3 separate regions of the Homo sapiens genome follow, and all the other regions are linked to region 3. Evidence: promoter capture Hi-C in 16 types of primary human blood cells and fetal thymus (Javierre and others, 2016). All regions are on one chromosome and are shown on one strand. The core of a region is centred on a gene start or on the middle of the fragment in contact, and the rest is flanking DNA. Distances in the headings are between cores, read along the strand shown.

Region 1 (3,678 bases), core at 672-3,171, 470 kb after region 3:
TATGCACTACCACATCGGACTAATTTTTTATGTTTTTGTAGAGGCAAGGTCTCACTATGTTGTCCTGTTTGGTCTCAAACTCCTGGCCTCAAGCAATCCTCTTGCCTTGGCCTTCCAAAGTGCTGGGATTACAGGTGTGAGCCACCATGCCTGGCCTGTTCGTTTTTTAACAAAGCTTTATCGAAGTATAATTGACATATGAGAAACTGCACACATTTAAAGTGTATTTAGGTGTGTATACACCCATGAGCCATTCACCACAATCAAGATAGTAGACATATCTGTCACCCCCAAAAGTTTATTTGGGCCTCTTTGTAACCCCTTCCAGCTTCCCTCCTATCCCCTCTCCAGCTATCCCTCCTGTTCTTCAGGAAACTGTATGTTCTAAAACATACATTTCATCATCAATTCATAAGCAATTCAAAATCAGGACTATAGGATTTTAACTTCATCTCTTCTAGTTTAACATCTGAATTTATCTTCTTCCATGCTGAGAGTATGGGTTTTCAGCAACACTGGGAATGACAGAATTAGAATATCATACAATTACTCATTTGCTTTATCCCACATTACAGCAAATGCTTTTTAAATGTTAGTTCCCTTTGATGCTCTACCCCGCTTCCCTTATAAAGGGCAAATAATTCTTCCCCATAATTTTCCCTTCTAATGTTTACAAAGGGCAGAGACAGGTTTCTTCATATTTAACATCCTGAGAGGCTACAACTCTGAGTCCTCAGTCATTTCTGGAAAGGGTCCATGCAGGGATGATCTTGGACTGTGCAACAAATGGTCCTGACAGACAGAAATGCAGTTTGTCCTGGGCTTAGAAAATAAGGAGACCTTCTTGCTGTATGGGGGCTAATAGTAGCGGTGGATAGGTAGACAGGCAATTCCAATCTACTATGGTAACTGCTGCCATAATGGGATGGCACAGAATGCTGTTGGAGCATAATGCAGTGGAGCACTTGTGCCTACCTTGCTCCTGGTATATTAGGGAAGGCTCCCAAGATGAGGGACGTCTAAGCGGGGTCCTGGAGGAAGAGCAGGAATTAGTGATGTTGGCAGTTAACAAAGAGGAGGGAGGAGAAGGCATTTTCAGGTCCAGAAGCAGCAACAGACAAAAGATCCAGAAATAGGAAAGTGTGGTTCCTAGAGAAACTGCAAATGAAGAGTTGACAGTGGCTGGGGTAGTAAAGGGAAGGTGAGAGAGTGTTCTGCTTATCTGCCCCACATGGTGCCTTGTACTCGGCAGGTGCTCACACGTTCTGGTTTCAGAAGACTATACTTTTTTTTTTTTTTTTTTGAGATGGAGTTTCACTCTTGTTACCCAGGCTGGAGTGCAATGGTGCAATCTCAGCTCACTGCATCCTCCACCTCCCGGGTTCAAGTGATTCTCCTGCCTCAGCCTCCTGAGTAGCTGAGGTTACAGGCACCTGCCATTGTGCCCGGCTAATTTTTTTGTATTTTTAGTAGAGATGGAGTTTCGCCACGTTGGCCAGGCTGGTCTCAAACTCCTGACCTCAGGCGATCCACCTGCCTTGGCCTCCCAAAGTGCTGGGATTACAGGCATGAGCCACTGCACCCGGCCAAGAAGAGTACACTTTATAACAGCAATAACAACAATAACAGCTTGTGGCAATTACAAAGTGAAAAGTACTGTGCCAAGAACTTTGCACAAATTATCTCATCTAATCCTCACAACAACCCTCCTAGGCAGGCATTCCCTTTCTGCAGTCAAGAAAGCACGTTCAGAAAGGTCAAGATGCACAGCTACTATGCTGAGTCACACATCCATATGGTGAAGCAGGGCAGGGATTCAAAGGCCCAAATTTTCTCATGCCAAAGCCTAAGCTCCTTCTCTCTTACCTTTCCTTCATCCCCTTTTACATGAGTAATAGCCTCCAAGGGGGTCACCTAGAGTTCTACTCAGGATTCAAGTAAAGATGTGTGTCTGAGGGATGAGCTACATTTCCCAAGATCTGCTTATCTGCTGCTTGGTTTGGGCAAACAGCCATCTGCACCATTTCTTTCCTCTTGGCTGTGACAGGTGAACTGTTCTAGCACAGACCAGGTCACTGCCTTGTGCCTTGAAGCTCAAATGATAAAACCTATGCCCTTCAGCCCAGCTGCTGGTCCTTTGGCAAACCAACCCCTGTGCCTGTGCCCCTCAGTGAAATATCTTCTGTCCCAAAGGGCTGCTGGCACACTGGCTTCATCTGCCTTGGTTTTTCTCAGATTCCACGCAGCTTTCTATCGGAGCATTAATGCATTTATTGGTTTACACATCCTTCTCTTTTTTCCAGATTGTGAGCCCCATAAGGTCAGGGACTGTGTCTTTATTTATCTCTGTATTCACAGGGCCTAGTGCAGGGATGGTACAGAATAGACATCTAGCAAATACCTAATCATCCCCCCCAAGTCCGTTTCTTCCTAGGAGAAAATGGAGGTAACAATATCCATCTTGGGGGACACCAGGAAGGTTAACTGAGATAATGTCTAAACCAGACTTAGCAGAGCACTCAGCACATACTAAGTACTCAATAAATGACATCACCTATGATTACTATTATTATGTTATACAATATTAGATACTCCAGGCCAGGTGTGGTGGCTCACACTTAGAATCCCAGTGCTTTGGAAGGACAAGGCAGGAGGATTACTTGAAGCCAGGAGTTCGAGACCAGCCTGGGCAACACAGTGAGATCCCATCTCTACAAAAAAATTTCTTTAAAAATTAGCCAGACATGGTGGCATACCTGTAGTCCTAGCTACTTGGGAGGCTGAGGTGGGAGGATTGCTTCAGCCCAGGAATTTGAGGTTGCAGTGAGCTATGACTGCGCCACTGCATTCCAGCCTGGACAACAGACTGAGAGTCTGCCTCTAAAAAATTTAATTTAGTTAAAATTAATTAAAAAAAATTTTTTTTTGAGACAGAGTTTCGCTCTTGTTGCCCAGGCTGGAGTGCAATAGCATGGTCTTGGCTCACTGCAACCTCCGCCACCTGGGTTCCAACGATTCTTCTGCCTCAGCCTCCCGAGTAGCTGGGATTACAGGTGCCCGCCACAACATCCAGCTAATTTTTGTATTTTTAGTAGAGATGGGGTTTCACCATGTTGGCCAGGATGGTCTCGAACTCCTGACCTCGTGATCTGCCCACTTCAGCCTCCCAAAGTGCTGGGATTACAGGTGTGAGCCACCACGCCTGGCCTAATTTAAAATTTTTTAATTAAAAAAATTAATTTACATTTAAATCCTGACTTTTGCTATGGTAGGAATGAACTTTACTATTCCTTGTCTCATGAACTGGGAGTGACTAAATGTGTCCCTAGTTGCAGTATTATTTTTTGTTTTCTTATTTCTATTTTAGATTAAATCAGACAACATGTGCATGCTTTACCTATAAAGTTTCTCTCAATTCTTGGACAAAGATTCACTCAAATGAGCTGGAAGGTGAGAGGTTAAGAAGGCAGAAGCCTGGGAGTCACACAGAAACACATTACAGATGTCATGTCCCTGGGCTGAGTTTAGAAAAGACAAGATGTTTGCCAGGCAGAAAGAGGGCATATTGGAAATAGGCTGGCAATCCCAGTGGTTAGAGGAGCAGGAGGCAAAGGTTCAGAGGCAGCATAATAGAAGCGCCTATCAAATTATCAAATTAATAGTTCCACAAAGCTTGTT
Region 2 (4,022 bases), core at 881-3,380, 310 kb after region 3:
TCCCTTTCTTCCTCTTCCTCCCTCCCTGTCTTCCTCCTTTTCTTCCACATGCATGATACCCTCTTCATTCTCTCCATCCTGCCCACCACTCCTGCTCCCCAAGAGGCTGTGACCGAAGTGGGGAAGAGAGGGCAGGGCAGGGCAGAGGGGGTCTCCTTACCCTGGCTCTGCAGGGAAGCTGGTGTGGCATGAGGAGGGCTTGGCAGCACTTTAAGGCCCCTTCAGCCTGCCCGTTGGCACAATTCCAAGCTCCGTGACATCTAAGGTTCTTACACCCCCAGACGCAGCAACTCCCCCCACCCCGCTCCGTCAGCGCCGCAGGAGCCGGAGTGGAGTGAGGGATCAGAGGAGCGGCACGAGGAGGGAGGCAGGTGGGAGGGCTGTGAAAGGGGAACAGGTGGGAGAGGGAAGGTGAGTCAGCCCCGAGCAGAGCTGAGCCAGCAGGAGTTTGCAGCGCAGCCAGGCCTGGGAGCCTCCCTGCAGCTGCGGGCTCTCGGCACCGCGTGGCCCCCTCCCCCAGTGCCCACACTGGCACTGCCCTTTGGCACTCCAGAAGTCCTGGCTTTGGGCTTTCACTTGCCTCTTCTGTGTGACCCTGCCACAGGTCACCTTGCATGTGACCAGAGAGACCAGGCCTCTCCCAAAAGAGCAACTACCACAAGCATATGAGCAAGCTGCAAGCTGGTGAAGGGCCTGGGGGGACCTTGGAACGCCCCATGTTGCTCTGGATGGTGGATGATGGGCCCTCTTGGGGGTAACCCCACATGTACCCCTTCCCCACCCTGCATCCGGGCCTCTCGCACATCTTAGAGGAGGGTAGACATCCCCTAAGACGTGCTCTAGGTGGAGGCTTCTGAGTCTGGGAGCACCTGAGCCTGAATCCTCTTCAGTTACTGCTCGTAGCCCAGGAAGCCGTGGCATCCTGGGGATGTGGTGGGAGGAGTGGGGAGACCTGGCGAGACCCACCCAGGGCCTGCAGGGCTGGATAGAGGGACATCTCTCATGAGCCTCCAGGGTCAGGATTGAGACCCTGGGGTACTCACCTGACAGAAGGGGACCAGGGGTCCTTCCAGAATGTGGGCAGATGCGCCACTGAATTTCCTTCTTGCTGAGCGGCCCCCACAGGCTCTTCGGTGGGGGTGGGGGCCAAAGGCCACAGGTGCACTCTGGGAAATCTGGGAGGGCACAGAGGAGGAAAGGAAGCAGCCCCTCCCCCTCATTGAGCCCCCACCTGGGAGAGGATGGAGTGAAGGAGAAGCAGGCTCCCGGGCCTCTGACTGTCCTCACTTTGTTTCCAGCCAGCCCCCTGGTTCTCTGGGCCTCTATTTATTTCCTCATCAGTAAAAGGAGGCCATAATCCTTGTCCTGGCTTCCTCTTGGAGTTTCGTAAGAGTTCAATGAACCCAAGGACGTGAAAGGTGTTATGCAAATGAGAGACATTATGAGTTATCTATTGGGAGGCTTGGATCCTGAGCTTGGCTCTGTCTCCAGGAAAGAGGCCTCAAGTTTCCTTCTGCAGCAGCGCAGCATACGGGGTGCACAGTGATCCACCCAAACGGCAGCTATGCTGCCGGGGCTGGTGAGACGTGGTCATTCACAAGGCAGCTCGCTGTGCTGCACAGCAGGTAAGCTTGCCTGCTGGTTCCCTGTTTCTAGAGGCAGCTGGCACCTTTGTGTGGAAGATCCCTGGGACCCAGAAGGGTGCCTTCTGCTTCCTTTCAGCCTGGGGCACACAGTCAGCCTGTAGAGTAGAAGTCGGGTGGGAGGAACCCTCAAACTCCAAGGCTCTGGGATAGATGACCAACTATGGCCACAGCTCCCTCCTGCTCGGCATGTCCTTGGCAATGTGACTTTGCCTCTTTCCCAAAAGGTGGAAACTAATTTCCCACCCTTTGAATCTGGGCTGGCCTCGTGACCTGGACTCTGGCCGATAGACTGCAGTGGAAATGATGTTATCCAAGTTCAAGGGGCTAGGCCTCCGGAGACCTTGCAGCTTCTACCTTTGCCCTCGTAGGTTGCTGCCCGGAGTCGCCATGAAGGAATGTGATGCAGCCTATTGGAGGAGAACCAAACCCCACCACCACCCCAGAAAGCCATACCAGCTGCCGACATGTACATGGGCTCATCGGGGGTTTTCCAGGCCCACTGATGTTCCAGCTGAGCACAGCTGCCGGGTAAGCCCAGGAGAAATCAGCTAGGAACCCCAGCCCACCCACAGGACCCTAAGAGAGGATGCGTCATTGGTCTCTGTTTTGTGCTGGCTGGTTATAGAGCATAGGCTAACCGAAGGCAGAGAAGGGAAGGGACTTACCCGAGGTCCCACAGAGAGCAGAGACCAAGCCTGTCTTGGTTAAGTCTGTGACCAGGTTTCCTGGCCCCTGTGCCCTTCCCATCAGTGTCCTGCCGCCAGCTCTACCAGCGGTGTGTGGATCTGCATGTATGTAGGGAGGTGCGGATCGGGTGGGCCCTTCCCACTTCCACCTGAGTTAGGAAGGGTTGGCTGACGTCCACACAGGGCTGTCCTGCCCATCATTGCAGGCGGGAGGGATGGTTAATCCCATTCTGCAGAGGATGAAACTGAGGCCAAGAGCTGACAGTCACACAGCTACTAGGTAACAAAGCTCTGACATCAAAGCTTTTGGTTCTTTGATGCCAACTCCAGATCCTTCTATTGACTCGCCGGAAGGAGAATGGCAGGTGGTAAAGTTCCCTCCAAGGGTCAGTCACTCAGAAAGGGCCACATACACAGGCACACACATAACACACAGGCACACACATGACACACAGGCACACACACGACACACACAGGCACAATTACATGTGTGCTTGCTCACTCTCTTTCTCTCCTTCTCACCCCTCCATCTTCAACCAGCCTACCCCTAATGGACCATGTACTTTATTAAAAATATATAGTTACGGCTGGGTGCGGTGACTCACACTTGTAATCCCAGCACTTTGGGAGGCCAAGGTGGGTGGATCACCTGAGGTCAGGAGTTCGAGACCAGCCTGGCCAACATGGTGAAACCCCATCTTTACTAAAAATACAAAACTTAGCTGAGTATGGTGGCTCATGCCTGTAATCTCAGCTACTCAGGAGGCTGAGGCAGGAGAATCGCTCGAACCTGGGAAGCGGAGGTTGCAGTGAGCCGAGATTGCTCCATTGCACTCCAGCATGGGCAACAAGAGCAAAACTCCGTCTCAAGAAAAAAAAATAATAATAAAAAATAAAAAAAAAATATATATATATATATATATATATGGTTACAAACTCTGTTGTCAATCTGGGCTGGGCCCGGGGCTGGAGGGACTGCAGGGAGGGAGGGATGGTCCCTCATCCCACCCCTCAGAGTCCCTCCTCTGCACCCAAACCCAACACCATCCAAGGGCCAAGGTGGCTGGCGTTGAGGGCCTCAAGGGGCCAGCCAGCTGGGCAGGGGAAGGCGCTAGGCTTGATGGGCTGGGTGGGGAGGGGTGCACAGAGAGGGACTGCATCTCCCTGTCCAGCAGGTAAAAACGGCAGAAAGTGAATTTGGTGTCTCCATCTGTCTCCATTTATAGATATTTACAAAAGAAAGTCATGAGCAACAGGCCACAGTCATGCAAAAGAAACGCACCCCCCCCTCCCCAAACTAACCCCCTGCCCACCCTGAAACCCCGAGATGTCCCCCGCCCAGCAGTCCAGCCACCTTCCCCAAGGTTCTGAGAGCAAAGAGGGCACGTCCTTGAAGAGTCAGTGGGGGAAGGGTGGTGGATCCGGGGACCTAGAGCCACCAGAAGTAGGCGCTGGCGGAACTCAGGCTGATCGGGGCCGAGCTCTTCCCAGGCCTGGGTGCTGGAGTCAGGAGGAAGGGGTCCCCCAGTCTTTGAAACCCCCACCTTCCTCCAGAAGGTCCACGGAGCCAGGGTTGGCTCTGTCCTGAGTGTGGGAGGGGGTGTCCTGGCATCCCACCCCCGGCAGAGGCTCTTGTGGGCAGTGGTGAGGGCCGGGCCTGGAGGTCAGATGGCAGACTCCCTGCGGTAGG
Region 3 (4,142 bases), core at 1,452-3,951:
GCTGAAAGCCAACAGAGGGCCTGCCCGAGACTGGATTTTGGGACCAAAGTCCGGGAACTTCCCATATGGTTCTCTGGGAGCCAGGCCATGTGTGTCCCAGCCTGGGAGCAGCCCGGCAGGGAGTGGTGGCGGGGAGCCTGGGCCCCAGAACAAGAGTCTGGCTCTGGGCCCTGGGCTGAAAGGCCTGTGTCAGGGACTCGGGACATCCTGGAAGGGCAAGGGTGCAAAAGGAGGGCCCAAGAATGGGGTCTGCTGTGGAGGGGGAGCCTCACCCAGAATCTGTGAGGTGGGGCTCTGCAGGGCACGCTCCCCAATCTTCTGGATGGCACTGAAGTAGACCTCGGCCGCCTCGGACAGAGCTGTGGACCAGAAGGGACAGGTCTGGTCCAGCCCTGCCTCTGCCCCACCCTTCTGGAGGCTCTTTTCATCTGGAGGGGACTGTGTCTGTCCTGGGTGGGGTGTGGGCATCTGTGTGTGCCCCTGAGGAGGGTGTGACCAGTTGAGCTGTGAAACTCAGGTGCAGGGGCATAAGGTGAGGGCTGGGGGCAGGGAGGTGGCGTGGAAAGCATCTAAGAAGCAGGGGGATGGGAGGCCCTGAGGTTCAGGGTTGATCAGCACTGGTGGGTAGTGGGGTGCTATTGGCAGGTATGAGCGGCCACAGCGGACGGGTACAAGGGTTTGCACGGGGACCGAGTGAATGTCAAGGCCAGCTGCAGGGTGTGTGGGTGGTGGCCAGTTGAAGTGAGGAAGCCAGCTGCTGTGTGAGCCTGGGTGCAGAGGTGGGACTGAGTATAGGGGTGGGTTCAGCTGGTGGCATCCAGGTGACGCCTAGAAATGTATGCACTGTCAGGGGCTGCCCTGGGGCTGTGTGGGCCTGCAGGGCCTGGTACTGCATCATGGGAGTGTCTGGAGGCACCTGAAGGAGGGGGCAATGAGGGGTGCTGGGTGTGGACTGGGGTGCGTGGGCACAGGAGAGTGGGGGTGCATAAGGCCTCTCTGGCTGCAGAGGTGTGAGGGTGAGGGTGGTGGGTAGGAGGGTGTAGGGTTGAGGATGAACAGGTGTGGGATGCAGAGAATCTGGGAGGGGCCTGGGTGGGTGGGAACAGCAGAGGCCCAGGGCTGGGGCTCGGTGGCCCGGGCAGGCACTCACCGTGGAAGGCACGCAGGTAGTTGTTGCCCAGGTACACCAGGTTCTCCAGGGCGGGGTTAAACTGCTCCATGATGCTCTGGACCCCAGGGTCAGGGGAGGAAAAAGGTGTAGAGATGGGGGAGCGAGAAGGAACCACGGATGGAGTCAAGTCACCAGGCGTCAGGGACAGGGCACCCCCAGCCCAGTGAGAAGCCCCAGACTTTGGGGGGCCCATCTACAAACCTAGGCTCACCCAGAATCCTGGCTCTTGGCTGCAGGGACCTCAGAGCCCATCTTTTGGGGTCCTGTTCTAAGCTGTGGTCCCCTCACAGCCAGCTCCCGCTTACGTCTGCTCTGGCGGGACCGAGGTGCCTCCCGAGATGGTGCACCTGGAAGGTTCTCCTCCTCCCGCTGGGCAGAAGCTGGCCCGCCTGCTGTGGTCCCCACTGGGCACGGCTCAGCCCTGCCCTGTGTCCAGGCCTTGCCGGGCTACACGCCTGGGGCTGCCAACAGTCACCCCCGGGGCAAGGGCAGCTCTCGCCCTCCTCCGAGAACAGCCCCCCATGGGCAAGGCTGTGGCTGGATTAGTGTGGGCCTCCTCGGGCTGGGGCCGGGCAGAGAGCTCCCCGGATGGTGAAGACGGGCCTGGACTTGGGCCTGGACTTGGACTTGGGTCTCGGTTCAAATCCCAGCAGCACCTCTTCCTCCCTCCGTGACCTTGAATGAGCTGTTTAACCTCTTTGGTCTCAGTTTTCTCATCTATCAAGCAGGGTGGTCATTTTCCACCTCACAGGTGGGTGGTGTGAGGCCTCCAGGTGAAAGGGTCCTGCACACAGGAGGCGCTCAATAAATGTCTGTGGCGGCTGCAACAACCCCCCGGGGGTGAAGTAGGAAGTCTGAGGGGCTCAGAAATGAGAGAGACAGAGACAGGGAGAGACAGAGAGAGAGAGAGAGACAGAGAGAGAGAGAGACAGAGAGAGAGAGAGACAGAGAGAGGGAGAGAGAGAGGGAGAGAGAGAGAGAGAGAGAGAGAGAGAGGGAGAGACAGAGAGAGAGAGGGAGGGTCTTTCTTTATTCCCAGGCCGGGCAGCCAGGCCCTTCTCATCCAGACTCAACTCTCCCCACCCTGGGCCTTGGGCTCCCTCCTGCCTTGTCCAGCATCTGGGAGTTGGGGGTTCCCGCTGTATGGCTGAGTGCTCTCGGGGATCCTTACCCCCGTACCCACCCCTGGCCCAGCCTGGCTCCAGGCTTCCCTTTCCAGGACATCTGTAGCCCCGGCTGGCCCTCCGTCCTCCAGAGCGGGCCTGATTTCTGTGCCCTGGGAGGAGGGGCTCAGGCCTGGCTTGGCCACCCATGTGCTCACCTTGTAGATGGCCATGGTGGACCTGTAGAACTGGTCCATCTCGGGGGCCATGGAGGGGCTGTCCCGGGTCTGAGCAGGAGGCTGGGAGCTGGTGGCGATGGCACAGCCGGGAGCAGTGGTAGGTAGTCCCTCAGGTGCCCACGACTCAGCTGGCAGCGAGGAAGCCTCGGAGAGGGACCTGGAGATGGAGGCCTGCCTCAGAGGAGTGGCAGCTTAATTATTCACCAACTCGGGATGTCAGAATGTGATCTGGGGCGTAACCAGATCCGGCAGGGAAGGCATCCTGTGCCGGGCAGGCTCGTGTGACCTGCCCTTCAATTATTCACCCCTTGGAGCTGTGGGCTGATACAAGTGCCCATGTGGATGAGCCCCCTCCTGGGTCACCCCCTCCTCAAGGACCCCAACCCTGGGGGGCCCCGCCCTCCCACCTGCCTATACCAGGCATTGCCCACCTTACTGGGCGGGCGCTGCCCGATGCCCTCCCCCAGGACTCTCTCTGCCAGACCCAGCAGCAGCAGCCCCTGGAGGGGAACGCCGCTTTACTTCTCACTGTCCTCAGGCCTGCGGCTCACAGTGGGGCCACGCCCTCTGAGCTTGGCTCCCACAGCCGCTCTGGCCCGCCCAGCTCCTCCACTTGCCGGAGCAGGAGCAGCACAAACGCTGGAGTTGCCCAGCCCTGGGCAGACCTCGGCCCTGCACACGCGCTGCCTGTCCACGCGGAGTCCCCGGCCTCTCTGGGTGACAAATGGGGCTCTCCCTGGTCCTCCAAGATGAAGTTGAAGATTGTGGCCCTCCTTGGGCCTGCCGGGGGTATGTGGGCCTGGCAGCTGCCTCTGCATACCCTAAGGGCCGGTTTAGGGGAGGCCTAGAGGAAAGAGGAGGTGTCCCTGCCCAGGGATCCTGGAAAACAGAGTGTCCGGGTACAAAGGAAAAGTCCGGTCAAGGCCAAGGGTCAAGGCCGAGGGGAGCCGGGGGTCAGGGGAACAGGTGGATCTCACACCACTGCACACACAACACAGGTGAACTTGAATCCAAATGATTTATTTCAGTTTTGGCTCTTAAGCCACTTCCATTGGGAAGAAGAAACTCCCAGGAGTGACCTTTGAGAGCTGAGGGTTCTCGGGGTGGGGCAGTGTGAGGGGCTGGGCCAGTGTGAGGGGCAAAGTCCAACGGGCATCCCACTCCTGCGGCCTGGGCTTTCCCAGCTGATGGGGTGGGGGACACCCATTTCTTTAGTCCCAGCCCCCAGGGAACGGAGCAGAGGGCAGAGGGAGTGGGCTGCACCCACCAGGAAGCCTGGGAGTGCCCTTGCTGGGGGCTGGGGCAGAGGCAGCCCGGCAGGCCCTCAGGGAGGCTGGGGCTGGGGGCAGGGGTACGGTTGTGCCCGGGTACCCTTAATGTTTGAGCTGATGGGGGAGTCAGTTGTCCTTGACAGTCAGGGAAAGGGGCCAAAGGGGGCTCTAGACTTTCCCAGCCTGGAATGACAGAAAGTGCTGGAAGGCGGGGTTAGTGGGAGACAGGCCTTCAGGACCAGCCTCGGGCAGGCAGCTTGGCATTCTCCCAGGCCTGGTCTATGGACTCAGAGGTGCCTGGGCCCAGATCTGCCCGGGAGGGCAGTGGCTGGGCTTGGCCTGGCAGGGGCTGAATGGA

What was found. The method cuts DNA at HindIII sites, captures the fragments that hold promoters and counts their contacts. A CHiCAGO score of 5 or more calls a contact.
Region 1: a contact is called between a fragment that was not itself captured here and the fragment with the promoter of BAIAP2L2 in region 3, in 3 of 17 cell types (naive B cells, endothelial precursors and total B cells). The highest score is 7.6, in naive B cells.
Region 2: a contact is called between a fragment that was not itself captured here and the fragment with the promoter of BAIAP2L2 in region 3, in 1 of 17 cell types (endothelial precursors). The highest score is 6.1, in endothelial precursors.

Annotation. Positions count from the first base shown.
Region 1 is chr22:38,581,887-38,585,564 of GRCh38, forward strand. FAM227A (family with sequence similarity 227 member A) reads right to left here. Exons shown (of 17, transcript NM_001013647.2): 17 at 1-3,678. Among named protein-coding and RNA genes, the nearest start is that of DMC1, 14 kb to the left of the region's middle. RefSeq lists an enhancer at 1,131-1,180. The HindIII fragment of the contact is 3,497 bases long and covers 174-3,670 here.
Region 2 is chr22:38,422,799-38,426,820 of GRCh38, forward strand. It overlaps LOC105373030 (a long non-coding RNA gene), which reads right to left and starts at 1,420. Exons shown (of 5, transcript XR_938254.4): 1 at 1,044-1,420; 2 at 161-380. LOC101927183 (a long non-coding RNA gene) reads left to right here and starts at 1,480. Exons shown (of 3, transcript XR_938252.3): 1 at 1,480-1,625; 2 at 2,015-2,174. KCNJ4 (potassium inwardly rectifying channel subfamily J member 4) reads right to left here. Exons shown (of 2, transcript NM_152868.3): 2 at 3,529-4,022. The coding sequence ends at 3,997. The HindIII fragment of the contact is 1,005 bases long and covers 1,629-2,633 here.
Region 3 is chr22:38,107,983-38,112,124 of GRCh38, forward strand. It overlaps BAIAP2L2 (BAR/IMD domain containing adaptor protein 2 like 2), which reads right to left and starts at 2,702. Exons shown (of 14, transcript NM_025045.6): 1 at 2,493-2,702; 2 at 1,151-1,226; 3 at 273-359. The coding sequence starts at 2,543. PLA2G6 (phospholipase A2 group VI) reads right to left here. Exons shown (of 17, transcript NM_003560.4): 17 at 3,513-4,142. The HindIII fragment of the contact is 13,026 bases long and covers 1-4,142 here.